Linked DNA regions of Homo sapiens: region 2 is linked to region 1. Evidence: promoter capture Hi-C in 16 types of primary human blood cells and fetal thymus (Javierre and others, 2016). All regions are on one chromosome and are shown on one strand. Each heading gives the region's core, a stretch centred on a gene start or on the middle of the fragment in contact. The rest is flanking DNA. Distances are from core to core; before and after follow the strand shown.

Region 1 (5,933 bases), core at 899-3,398:
GAGCAGCAGTAACCTTGAGTTCAAGGAAGATCCATGAAATATATACAAAATTAGTGCTGCAAAACTATGGCGAATAGGTAACATTCAGGTATTAACTCACTTCTCATCCCAAGCCTCACAGGGTAGGCCCTGCTATTATCCTCATTTCGCAGTGGGAAACTGATGCCTAGAGAGGTTTCATGAGTTGTCTAAGATCACACTGCCAGTGATTTAGAGCGAGGTGGTAGAGGAACAAAAAGTAAAGAACTCCTCCCAAGCTGTCCTAGCACTAAGATTTTCAGGCAACACCCCTTGCTTCTGGATGCCCTAAAAAATTAGTTATCCTCCTAAATTCCACAGGACATTGTCTGTTTTTTTTTTTTTTGTTTTTTGTTTTTTGTTTTTGAGATGGAGTCTCGCTCTGTCGCCCAGGCTGGAGTGCAGTGGCGCGATCTCGGCTCACTGCAAGCTCCGCCTCCCTGGTTCACTCCATTCTCCTGCCTCAGCCTCCCCAGTAGCTGGGACTACAGGAGCCCGCCACCACGCCCAGCTAATTTTTTTGTAATTTTAGTAGAGACGGGGTTTCACCGTGTTAGCCAGGATGGTCTCGATTTCCTGACCTCGTGATCCGGCCGCCTCGGCCTCCCAAAGTGCTGGGATTATAGGTGTGAGCCACCACGCCCAGCCGATATTGTCTGCTTTTTAACTGAAGAATGTGCTTTACAGTTCAAAATTAACTGAAAATCTTCATATTTAAAGCCATAAAATGAAAAGAGAAGCCAAAAGCTGGAAGGAGATATTTGCAAAACACATACCACTACTAAAGGAGTGGTATCAGAATATATAAAAACAATTCCTGGCCGGGCACGGTGGCTCACACCTGTAATCCCAGCACTTTGGGAGGCCGAGGTGGGTGTATCACCTGAGGTCAAGAGTTCGGGACCAGCCTGGCCAACATGGCGAAACCCTGTCTCTACTACAAATACAAAAAAATCAGCCAGGCGTGGTGGCAGGCGCCTGTAATTCCAGCTACTCGGGAGGCTGAGGTAGGATAATTGCTAGAACCCAGGAGGTGGAGGTTGCAGTGAACCATGATTTCTCCACTGCACTCCAGCCTGGGCGACAGAGTGAGACTTCGTCTAAAAAAAAAAAAAAAAAAAAAAATTCCTACAAATCATTAAGAAAAGGGCAGAGAGTCCAACAGAAAAATGAACAAAAGACAGGCCCCTCACAAAAGAAGATCTCCAAGTGATGAATCCATATAAGAAAATGTGCTCAAACTTATTGGTCATGAGGGAAATACAAATCAAACCACCAAGTTGGACTTCTCCATCGGAATGTGGACACCACAGGAGCAGAGATTTTTGTTCATTCATGCACATATGATTGATCTGAAAAAGCCACCCATCATGGACCCCACAGAATGTCAACACTGACCCCACACACACTCCCATTCTTGTCCTCATAGACCCTCATCCCTCACCCCAGATCCCCCTATCCACTCACCCCACGGATCAGCATCCCTCACCCTACAGACCACCCATCACTCACCCCAGACTCCCTTCACCCATCCCATAGAAGCCCCATCACTCACCCTTACAGACATCATCAAACACCGCACAGATCCCCCATCACCCCACAAACTCCCATTTGCATAACCCACATACTGTTACCCCTGGTCCCACAGGCTCCCCTATCACTGTTCTCCACGTCACTCAATCCCCTCCTCAGGCCCTCCACTTGTCTCCATCCGTCACTGATCACATAGACCCGCAGCACTCAGCCAGGCCCCTCACCCCGGCTCTGCTCTCAAGCCGGGCTTGGCTCCCCGCCTGCCCAAATGCGTTCAACATCCCCCGAAAGGCCATTTCCCTTCCAGTCTTCCCGGAGAGATGTCAGGGTGACGAGGGAGCTTATCTTTCGGTGGCTCCGAAACAGCCACGAAGCCGAGCTCTACCAGTAACAAAAATGGCGTCATTCCGCCAGCGCCAGGACCTCTGTCGCTGGCCGTGGTCTCGCACTGCTTCTGGAGGCTCCCATTCCAGCCAGAGGAGAGGTGCGTTTGGGGGCCCGGGGGAGTCCTCGTGATATCTCCGAGTTTGGGTATTCGGAATTGATCCTACGAAAGCAGTGTGAGGCTTGGAAGGGCCGCGACTTGTCCGGGTGAGTGGGCGTTCCCGGCCACCAGAAGAGGCACGGCCTGAGCAAAGGCGTGGCGACATGGCAGGGTGGGAAACGGGGAAAGTGGGAAGGCTGGACAGAGCACCCCCCGGGAGATTCCTCCGCAGAAGCGAATTCCTAAAACGTCTGGAGAAAGGGAAGAGACCTTTGACATCATGCAGCCTTTCAGGGGGCTCACACATACCCGCCCACTTCTCCCCACCTGGCCTCGGCGCCCTGCCGCCTTCCTATTGTTCCTGCTTGGCGTCAGGACCCGCCCCCATCTGTCACTCACTGCCCACCGGTCCTCCATTGGCTCCTTTGAACACGGAAGGGCCCACCTTCACCTGTCATTTACAGCCTGGACTTCTGCCTGCCCTAGTTCAAGTAGGCTTATATGGCCTTTTGCAGCCCGTATCAAAACTAAAAGAGTTCATAGAGTCAGAGGTTCGAGGTAAAACCTAAGGGACATTGGTTTTAGACGACTTAACAAAGGGCTGGATTGGAAGTCAGCCCGGAACAGGATTGCAGAGTTAACAAAGGTTCATGTTCGATACAAAACGGGAACTCTGATGGTTACAATAGTTAAGAAAGTCCTAGGATTCAAGACCTCTATCAGGGTGTATGGATGGAGAAAACATTAACAAATATCCTGCTTGAAGATCAAATCAGAGGGGCACTGGTGGTGCAATAGTAACCCAATTCCAAAGTTATTTCAGAGAGGCCTTAAATGGAAGGTTAACTTAGACCCAAATCTGAGCCAAGACCAGAGACCCATTAAAGTCACGTGATGTGGTTAACAGAGCCCCGGAATTCACAGCCTATACCAAAGGGGTAATGATGGTGGAAGAATTAATCAAGGTCTGACTTCAAAGTCAAACCAAATGGCATTCATGATAAAAATGTTAACTGAGGGCTGGGCACAGTGGCTAACACTTGCAATCTCAGAACTTTGGGAGGCCAAGGCGGGAGGATCACTTGAGGCCAGGAGTTAGAGACCAGCCTGGCCAACATGGCAAAACCCTATCTCTACTAAAAATACAAAATTTAGCCAGATGTGGTGGCACATGCCTGTAGTCTCAGCTGCTTGGGAGGCTGAGGCATGAGAATCGCTTGAACCTGGGAGGTGGAGGTTGCAGTGGGCCAAGACTGTGACACTGCACTCCAACCTGGGGGAGAGACAAAACTCTGTCTCAAAAAATAAAAATAAGAAAAAAATGTTAACTGAGGGCCGGGCACAGTGGCTGACACCTGTAATCCCAGGACTTTGGGAGGCTGAGGCGGGAGGATCATGTGAGCCCAGGAGATCAAGACCAGTCTGGGCAACATAGTGAGACTCCATCTCTATAAAAATAAATGTTAACTGAGGATTGGGGTTGGTGGATACAGGAGAAGGGGCACAAGTAGCTAAAAAGTTAGTACAGCCTTGATTTTCTGTACATACCAAAGGATCATAGATGGAGAGGACTCAACTGAGGCCTGCAGTCAGTGTAAAGATCTGAGGGATGCAGAGCGTAGTGGCTCACTCCTATAATCCCAGCATTTTGGGAGGTGGAGGCAGGCAGATCACTTGAAGCCAGGACTCAGCATAGCCAACTTGGCGAAAACCTGTCTCTACTAAAAATACGAAAATTACCCAGACGTGGTGGTGCATGCCTGTAATTCCAGCTGCTTGGGTGGCCGAAGCATGAGAATCACTAGAACCTGGGAGGTGGAGGTTGCAGTGAGCAAGAACTGAGGGGCAGTAATGGGGAAAGAGTTAACAGACATGCAAAAAGATTCACATGTAAATTGCCCTGGTGATGGAAAAGTGAACAGAAACTCAAGCTTAACACATAGACCCAGGATTATTAATTTTCCACCCTCAAAGCCCTGAATTCTCTCTCTAGATCCAAACCCATTAATAGTGGAATGGATAACAGATTCCCCAGTTCAAGGTAAAATTAAGGGTTGATTTAGGTTGGAAGAGTTAATAGAAGCCCAGGTTGGAGAGCACAGATAAGAGACTTTGATGGTGGAATTGCTAACAACAGCTGGGGTTTGAGGTGAGGTCAGAGGGATAGGGATGGTGGAAGAGTTAAGAAGGACATGGTTTGAGTATAGACCAGACGGGCCATCAATGATGGAATATTTCAAAGATGCCTGTATTCATTTCCTGTTGTTGCTATAGCAAATTATCACAGACTTACTTGCTCAAAACAACACAAATTTATTATCTTACAGTCCTACATGTCAGAAATATGATATGGGTTTCACTGGGCACTCCCTACAGAGGCTTAGGAGAAACTCTGTTTATTTGCTTTACCTAGCTTCTGCTAGAAGTCACCTGTATTCCTTGACTCATGGTCCCTTCCTCCATCTTCAAAGCTGACAGTGTAGCATCTTCACATTGCTCTCTGACGGTAACCTGCTTCCATCATCACGTCTCCTTTTCTAACTCAAACCCTTCTCCTTCCCTGTTTTATATATATATGGAGAGAGAGAGAGAGAGAGAGAGAGAGAGAGACAGACAGACAGGATCTTGCTCTGTCACCCAGGCTGGAGTGCTGTGGTGTGATCAGACACTGTAACCTTTAACTTCGGGGCTCAAGCGATCCTCTCACCTCCGCCTCTGGAGTAGCTAGGACTACAGGCACATGCCACCACGCCCAGCTAATTTTTTTACTTTTCTTTTTTTTTTTTAGACAGAGTCTCACTCTGTCGCCCAGGCTGGAGTGCAGTGGCGCAATCTCGGCTCACTGCAAGCTCTGCCTCCTGGGTTCACGCCATTCTCCTGCCTCAGCCTCCAGAGTAGCTAGGACTACAGGTGCCCGCCTCAACGCCCGGCTAATTTTTTGTATTTTTAGTAGAGACAGGGTTTCACCATGTTAGCCAGGATGGTCTTGATCTCCTGACCTCCTGATCTGCCTGCCTCAGCCTCCCAAAGTGCTGGGATTACAGGCGTGAACCACCACGCCTGGCCATTTTTTAACTTTTGGTAGAGACAGGGTCTTGCTAGGTTGCCCAGGCTGGACTCCAATTCCTGGCCTCAAGCAATCCTCCCAACTCAGCCTCCCAGAGCGCTCCCTCCCTCTATGAAGGAGGACCCTTGATTACATTGGGCCCATCTAGATAATGTAAGGACCCTTGATTACATTGGGCCCATCTAGATAATCCAGGAAAATCTCATCTTAAAATTCTTAATCACATCTGCAAAGTTCCTTTTGCTTTGTAAGGTAACATATTCACAGGTTCTAGGGGTTGGGAGAGGGATATCTCTGGGGGGACTATTAATCTGTCTACCACAATGCCCAATGTTTAAGTCAAACCAGAGGGCCAATGGGGGCGGAAGATTTGATTGAAGCATAGGGTATTAACAAGAGAAAACGATCAATGGTTTGAATCAGATTTAAGTTCACATAGGATGGGCCTAGATGAGGGGTCCAGGCTGTTACGTCAGAATTGCATCAAGGGCCTGAGTTCAAAGTTAAAGGAAATTCAAAGTCAAAGTTCAAATTTCAAAGGAAATTGATGGAATCTCAACAGAGATCCTGAGCTCTGGATCAAAGCCCCAGGAGCACTGGTGGTTAAAAAAAAAAAAAAAGTCAACAGAGGCCCAGGTTTAAGATCTACAATATAGACACATTGATGGTGGAATAATTAACAGGTTTGAGGGTGGGCTGGGTGCGGTGGCTCATGCCTGTAATCCCAACACTTTGGAAGGCCGAGGTGGGCGGATGACAAGGTCAAGAGATCAAGACCATCCTGGCCAACACGCTGAAATCCCGTCTCTACTAAAAACACAAAAATTAGCT
Region 2 (5,933 bases), core at 907-3,406, 890 kb after region 1:
GTACATCTTAAGTTCCTTGAGGAGGAAGCTCAGACCTTACCTCTAGACACACAAGTCACCAAGGTATGTATGAGTCTCCTGTCCCTGAAGGAAAGCTCAAGTGTCCTTGGCAGAGTGGGTCTCAGGCCCTTAAAAGTAGGCAAAGATCTGTAGGGAGGCCCCAGACATCATCTCTGGGATCCCATGTTGCCCATGTCCCCTGAGTAGTCGTCTCAGGCTCAAGTTCCCAAGGCATGGGTCGTATGTCCCTGACAAAAAGCTTAGGCCCAAGGTGGGAGGGCCTCAAACCCCTGTTACAGAGGGGAAAATGGGATACTGTATCCCCAAGGTATGTTTCAGTTCCTTATAATTGGGGTAAAAGGGTCACATATGCTCGTGGGGTGGGGAGTCTCAGATCCCCAAAACCACTCAGACACCAGCCTTGAGAAGAAGGATCTCCTAAAGACTTCACCTTGTCTGAGACCTTTGCAGCAGGACACCAGGCCCCTGAAGAGGCCTCAGACTCGGTCTCTAAAAACCTCAGTCCATAAGCAGGTGGATCTTAGGCCCTAGGATCCAACGCTGTGAGTCTCATTTTCCTGAAGAAAGGTTCAGGCCCCTGGTGGGGGTGCTGAGGGCCCATCTCTTCTTACAAGAAGCTTAAGATCCTGAAGCGGTTCAGGCCCTTGTCTCCCAAGAGGTAGGTCTCAGGCCACTGATAGGAAATGCAGACCTTTGTCACTCAGAAAGGAGATAAGTAAAGCTGCTGGTCATTGGGTGTTGGTTTTGGTCCCTGTCCCCAAGGGCAAGGGAATCATATCTCCCTGTGAAAAGTCTTACATCCCTGGAAAAAGCTTAGAAGATCCCTATCCTTAAAGGGGGCGTGTGTGTGTGTGTGTGTGTCAGGACCTTGATTCTAGAAGCAGGACTCTCAGGCCCCTGAAGACAGACTTAGGACCCTTGAGGTCTCAGGTCTGGCTATTCAGTGGTCCTGTGCAGTGTTACCCAGCGAAGCGGGAGAGGATTGTCCTATATGCAGAGTGTCTCAGACTCTTGAAAGGGCTTAGGCTCCTTGGGGATGTTCAGCCCCGATCTCCGAGGTCTCCACCTTATTTGACTTTCCTGGAAGGGGAATCTCAAACTTCTATCCCAGAGGAAAAGAGCTCTTAAGCCACTGAACACATACCTAAGTCTCTTGGGAGACCTGAGACTCCTACTCAAGAGGGGCGCGATCCTACCTGTATCTCTTGGAGAATTCCCACCTATTGGCCCTATATGATGAGGTCCCAGGGACTGGAATGACGACTATAGACCTTAAAAGAGACCTCGGATCTTTAAGTCTGACACCTTACCGTAGGCCTCTAGCCCCAAAATCCTGGAGGGGAGGAAAGAAGGTGTCTCACATCCCTACCGCCAGAGAAGACTGTCAGGCCCAGTGAAAACGCCTAGATCCCTTGGGGCGATCTCAAACAGCCTTCCTTGAGTCCCTTCACAGTCTGGGGGTCCCATCTGCCGTGGCCGCTCACCCCTCACCCCACAGCTCTTACCTGCTCGACAGTGGCAGGGTCCATAGCCTCGATGCGTGCTGCAGCCGCCTCATACTCGTCCTCACTGTTGTAGCCTGCGCCGACCTCCTCACGCTCGGGACTGCCCCCGCCAACCGCGCCAACCCCGGGAGCTTGACGTCGCCGCTTGCTGTGCCCAGGCCCGGAGCAGCAGCCGCCCACGCCTACGGCACCACCCACACCCACCACCACGCCCGCGGCACCCACACCCGCCGCCGCTGCGCCCAGCGCGTCGCCGGGACCGCCGCCGGGACCACCTGGGCCCCCGCAAGGAGGTGGAGAAGCCTGTTGTGGCCGGGGACCCGCCACTGCACCAGGCGGCACGGCCAGCGCCCAGCGATGAAGAGCGCCCGGCGGTCCTGGTAGCGGGCCTTGAGGCGGTGGCGAAGCTCGCGGACGGGCCCCCACGACGCCGGAGTCACGGTCGCGATCGCCGCCGCCCACGCCCGTGCCGCCGCCGCCCACGCCCACACCTCCGCCGCGCCGCGGCGCCGGGGGCATCGGCCCGGGCGGCGGCGGCTCGTTGGCGGGGTCGGCGTCGGGAGGCGGCGGCTTCTTTTTGGGGAGTATAGTCATGGCTGCACTGCCGAGTACCCCCCAACAAACCCGGCGCGGGGCACGCCGGGAGAGAACCCGGATGAGGGGGCTAGTGTAGTGCGCGAGGCACGACGGGAACGGCGAGACCCGGATAAAGGGATCGCGGCACCGGTTCGAGAACCCTCGGCGGCGGAGGAGGCGGCGGCGGCGGCGGCGGCGGTGGCGGCGCGCGGGTCACGCCGAGAGGAGAACCCGGATGTAAAGTCCAAGATGAAGGCAGTGCGGCGAGTTTGTCTTAGCCTTCTCTCCAAGTCCAGCAAGTTTATTGCTACGCTTGTTCCGGCCTTCTGCTTCAAAGGAAACAGAACCAAAACAAGCACCTCTTCGCTCCGCCCCCTCGCAGGTTCTTGCACTACCGGGTGGGGCCCCGGGGCGCTGCGCACGCGCGCCAGGGCACAGCCCCGCCCCTTACTCGGAAGTACGTGGGCAAAATCGCCGCCGCCGCCGCCACAACAATTGCAACACCAACCAATTGAGCAGCTGCGTGGGACCTCGACGACGCCCACGGGCCAATCACAGGCGAGTGCTCGCCCTCCGGTGCCCTCCGTCTCAAATTTCAGTCAAAGTCGACACCCTGGTTCCCAGCCTTTCTCCCCGTCAGTTCCGTCTTGCTCTTCACTTTTCTCCCCGAAGCTCTGACCTGCAGGCGTCGGTACTGCGGACGGACAGCGTGGCCTGTCCCACGTACGACAGGAAAAACACCTCCCCTCCAGGATTCCAACTTGAACGCTGTCAGCCGGAATGACTGGAAAACATCAACACTCCCGGGAGCATAGCTGGCCCCTGTAGCGTCACTTCCGGTCCCACCCACCTACAAATACCCTTCCGGGGGAGGCGGACACCGCTTCGCCCCGGCAACAGCCTGAGTTCTGCGGTGATTGGTTAAGAGACGCCGTCACTCGCGGCATACCGACCAACCTTGGGACAGACAGGCGCCGTGGGGACAGTGGTTGTTTGGGAAACAGACACGCCTTCTCTGGCACCACAGCACTCTCGGCCTCGCGTTGACCTCCCCGCCCCTATGGCTAGTGCGCAGGCGCGGCCCAGCCTTTTTTTTTTTTTTTTTTTTTTTTTTTCCTAATTGAGACAGGGGTCTCACTCTGTCGCCCAGGTTGGAATGCAGTGGCGCGATCATAGCTCACTGCAAACTCCAACTCCCAGGTTCAAGCGATCCTCCCGCCTCAGCCTCCCGAATAGCTGGGACCACAGGCGCGCACCACTACGACCGGCTAATTTTTTTTTCACTTTTTTGTAGGGACAAAGTCTCACTATGTTGCCCAGGCTGATCTCCAGCTCCCGGGCTCAAGCGATCCTCCCGCCTCGGCTTCCCAGAGTGCTGGGATTACAGGCGTTAGTCACCGCGCCTGGCCAAGCCCAGCCTTTTTCTAAAACTGAGTTTGCTTGGGTCGATCGAGGTTTATGAAAGCTCTGTCACCAGTCAGCGTCTCAAAATGGGGTTGGCAGAATCCCTGCTATTGAGTAGCTGGAGAGCTACACGCTAATCCTAGCTCTGCCCTTCCTGTCTGAGTGATCTTTGTCAGTCATTTAAAACCCACCCCGTCCTCAATTTTTGTTGTTGTTGTTTACTTTTTTATAGAACGCTTCACGTATTTGCGTGTCATCCTTTCGCATAGTGCCATGCTAATCTCTGTATCGTTCTAATTTTAGTATATGTGGTGCGAAGTGAGCACCCATCCTTAATTTCTATTCTATAAATTGGCAATAATTCTAATCCGAGGATCAGAGATTAATGCTTGTGAAGGGCCTGGTGCTGTGCCCAGCACATAGGAAGTGTTCAATAAAGTAGTCTGCATGGTGGTGCAGTGGAAGGATCCCAGGCTTTGGAGCCAGAAAGACCTCAGTTCCAGGCACAGATGGACCATTACCAACTGTATGACCTTGAGCAAGTCATTGTGTCACTTTTGAGATTACCCATGTGTAAAACAGGAATGATAATACCTGCCCAGACTACCTCAGGGAATGGTTATGGGGTTCAGATGAGCTGATGAACCAAGAAGGTATTTGGAGTTCACTTCCAGTCTTAGGAGACAAACCATACAACAGGTTGACTGAAAGAGACCATGGGAAAGCTGTTTTGAGTATAGCCTTGCCTCCCTTGAGATACTAACCCTAGTTGAAATTCTTCCCTGAAAGGTGTAAGTAATAAATGGGCTCTAAGTAGTGTTTTCTGCTCATGAGACTTAATAGGAGGGGACTTTCACGTTTACCGGGCCTGTTGTGTTCAGGGCTCTGTGCCAAATGCCTATGCACATTATCACATTGAATCTTCTCATGATCATCTCACTCCAGCCCCATATATTTCACTCACTACACATCTAAAACTGAACTCATGATAGCAATCATGGCTACCCTTCACCAAGTACTTACTATGTACCTAGCACTGAGTGCTGACAGCTCTGATGTTCCCTTTACCAGGGAATAGCACTCCCATCCAGCCGTCGTCCAAGCCAGAAACTGGGAGTCAACTTTGACTGCTCCCTCTTCCTCAACTCCCACATGCCTGTCAATCCCAAGTCCTGCCAATTCTGCCTCCCAAATCTCTAGACTCTCCAATTCTACTGCCACTACTCTGGTCCAAGCCACTGTCCCCTACCACCTGGACTATTATAAAAGCCTCCACCCTACTTTTCTTCCTTCCAGGACTGTTTCTCTATATCCACTCTCCACAGCCAGAATGATCATTCTGAAACACAAACTTCATCATGAGTTTTCTGTTTAAGTCTTTAGAGGTCCCCACTATCTTTAGGATGAAGTTTAAAATTCGCGTCATAGCTTCAAAGCTTTTTATTATCTAGCCTACCTCTCCATCCTTCCTCTCCTCACAGCCTCACACTCTCCTCCCCAGCTGGACTGAACTACTTTCAGTTCCCCAAAGGCCTGAGCTCACTCTCCAACCTCCAGGTCATTGCACATGCTGTTCCCTCTGCCCAGAACATTGCATCCTTTCATTTGCTGCCTGGCTAACTCCAACTCATTCCCTGTGTGTTGGCCAGGTTAAGTTCTCCTGCCATCTGCATGCCTCTATAACACATGGATCTTAGTTCTGCCACACCATGTTGTAATTACTTGTCTGCCTTCCATGCTCAACTATACATCAGAGACAATGTCTACTTTGCCCACCTTTGTATCCCTAGGGCTGGCACATGATGGAAGTTAATAAATATTTGGTGACTAAATGAATTATCCCTATTTCACAGACTAGCAACCTGAGGCAAGAGAAGGTAAGTGATTCTCTCACCCAGGGATTGGAACCCAGATCAACCTGAATCCATGGTCTGTCTGCTCAGTGCTCTATAGAACTCAGCCACACACTAGCCTAGTGTAGCCAGTAGCCCAGAAGAGAGAATGTAGGGGGCGTCCACAAGGAAGGGAAATTCACCAAACAAAGTGATGCTTTTATTAGGGTTAAATTCAGGGTTGTTTGCTGTCAGGAAGCCTGGGTTTAAGCCTCCTCTAACTAACTATGTGTTTCTCTGGGTCTCAGTTTCCCGATCTGTGAATCAGGAAGCTGGCGCAGATGATATCCAAGGAGGAATGTCTCAGGACCCCCTGGCCTGTCTCACTGGCTGTAGATGAACTCCTCAAACCACACTCTTTCATTTCTCCTGGATCCCCATCTTCCAGAATACATCACCAACCATCCATCTCCCATACCTTGACCCATACCAGCCCTTCTCCTAGCCAAAAGGGATTGAAATCAGAGTGTTTTCAACCCCCAAGCCCAACCCAGCCCCCAAACCCACAGAGCCAGGAGATACTCTCAGTCCTCAT

Evidence for each region. Contacts are between HindIII fragments. The CHiCAGO score rates a contact against its expected background, and 5 or more counts as called.
Region 2: the fragment with the promoter of OTUD5 here is called in contact with the fragment with the promoter of ZNF630 in region 1 in 1 of 17 cell types (naive B cells); the score reaches 5.8 in naive B cells.

The regions. Positions count from the first base shown.
Region 1 is chrX:48,069,492-48,075,424 of GRCh38, forward strand. It overlaps ZNF630 (zinc finger protein 630), which reads right to left and starts at 2,149. Exons shown (of 5, transcript NM_001282201.2): 1 at 1,776-2,149. RefSeq lists an enhancer at 2,120-2,379 and a silencer at 2,291-2,487. The HindIII fragment of the contact is 4,069 bases long and covers 1-3,964 here.
Region 2 is chrX:48,955,451-48,961,383 of GRCh38, forward strand. OTUD5 (OTU deubiquitinase 5) reads right to left here and starts at 2,157. Exons shown (of 9, transcript NM_001136157.2): 1 at 1,527-2,157. The coding sequence starts at 2,120. It overlaps KCND1 (potassium voltage-gated channel subfamily D member 1), which reads right to left. Exons shown (of 6, transcript NM_004979.6): 6 at 5,930-5,933. It also overlaps the pseudogene RNU6-722P. RefSeq lists silencers at 1,774-1,833, 2,204-2,253, 2,454-2,613 and an enhancer at 2,714-2,903. The HindIII fragment of the contact is 4,109 bases long and covers 832-4,940 here.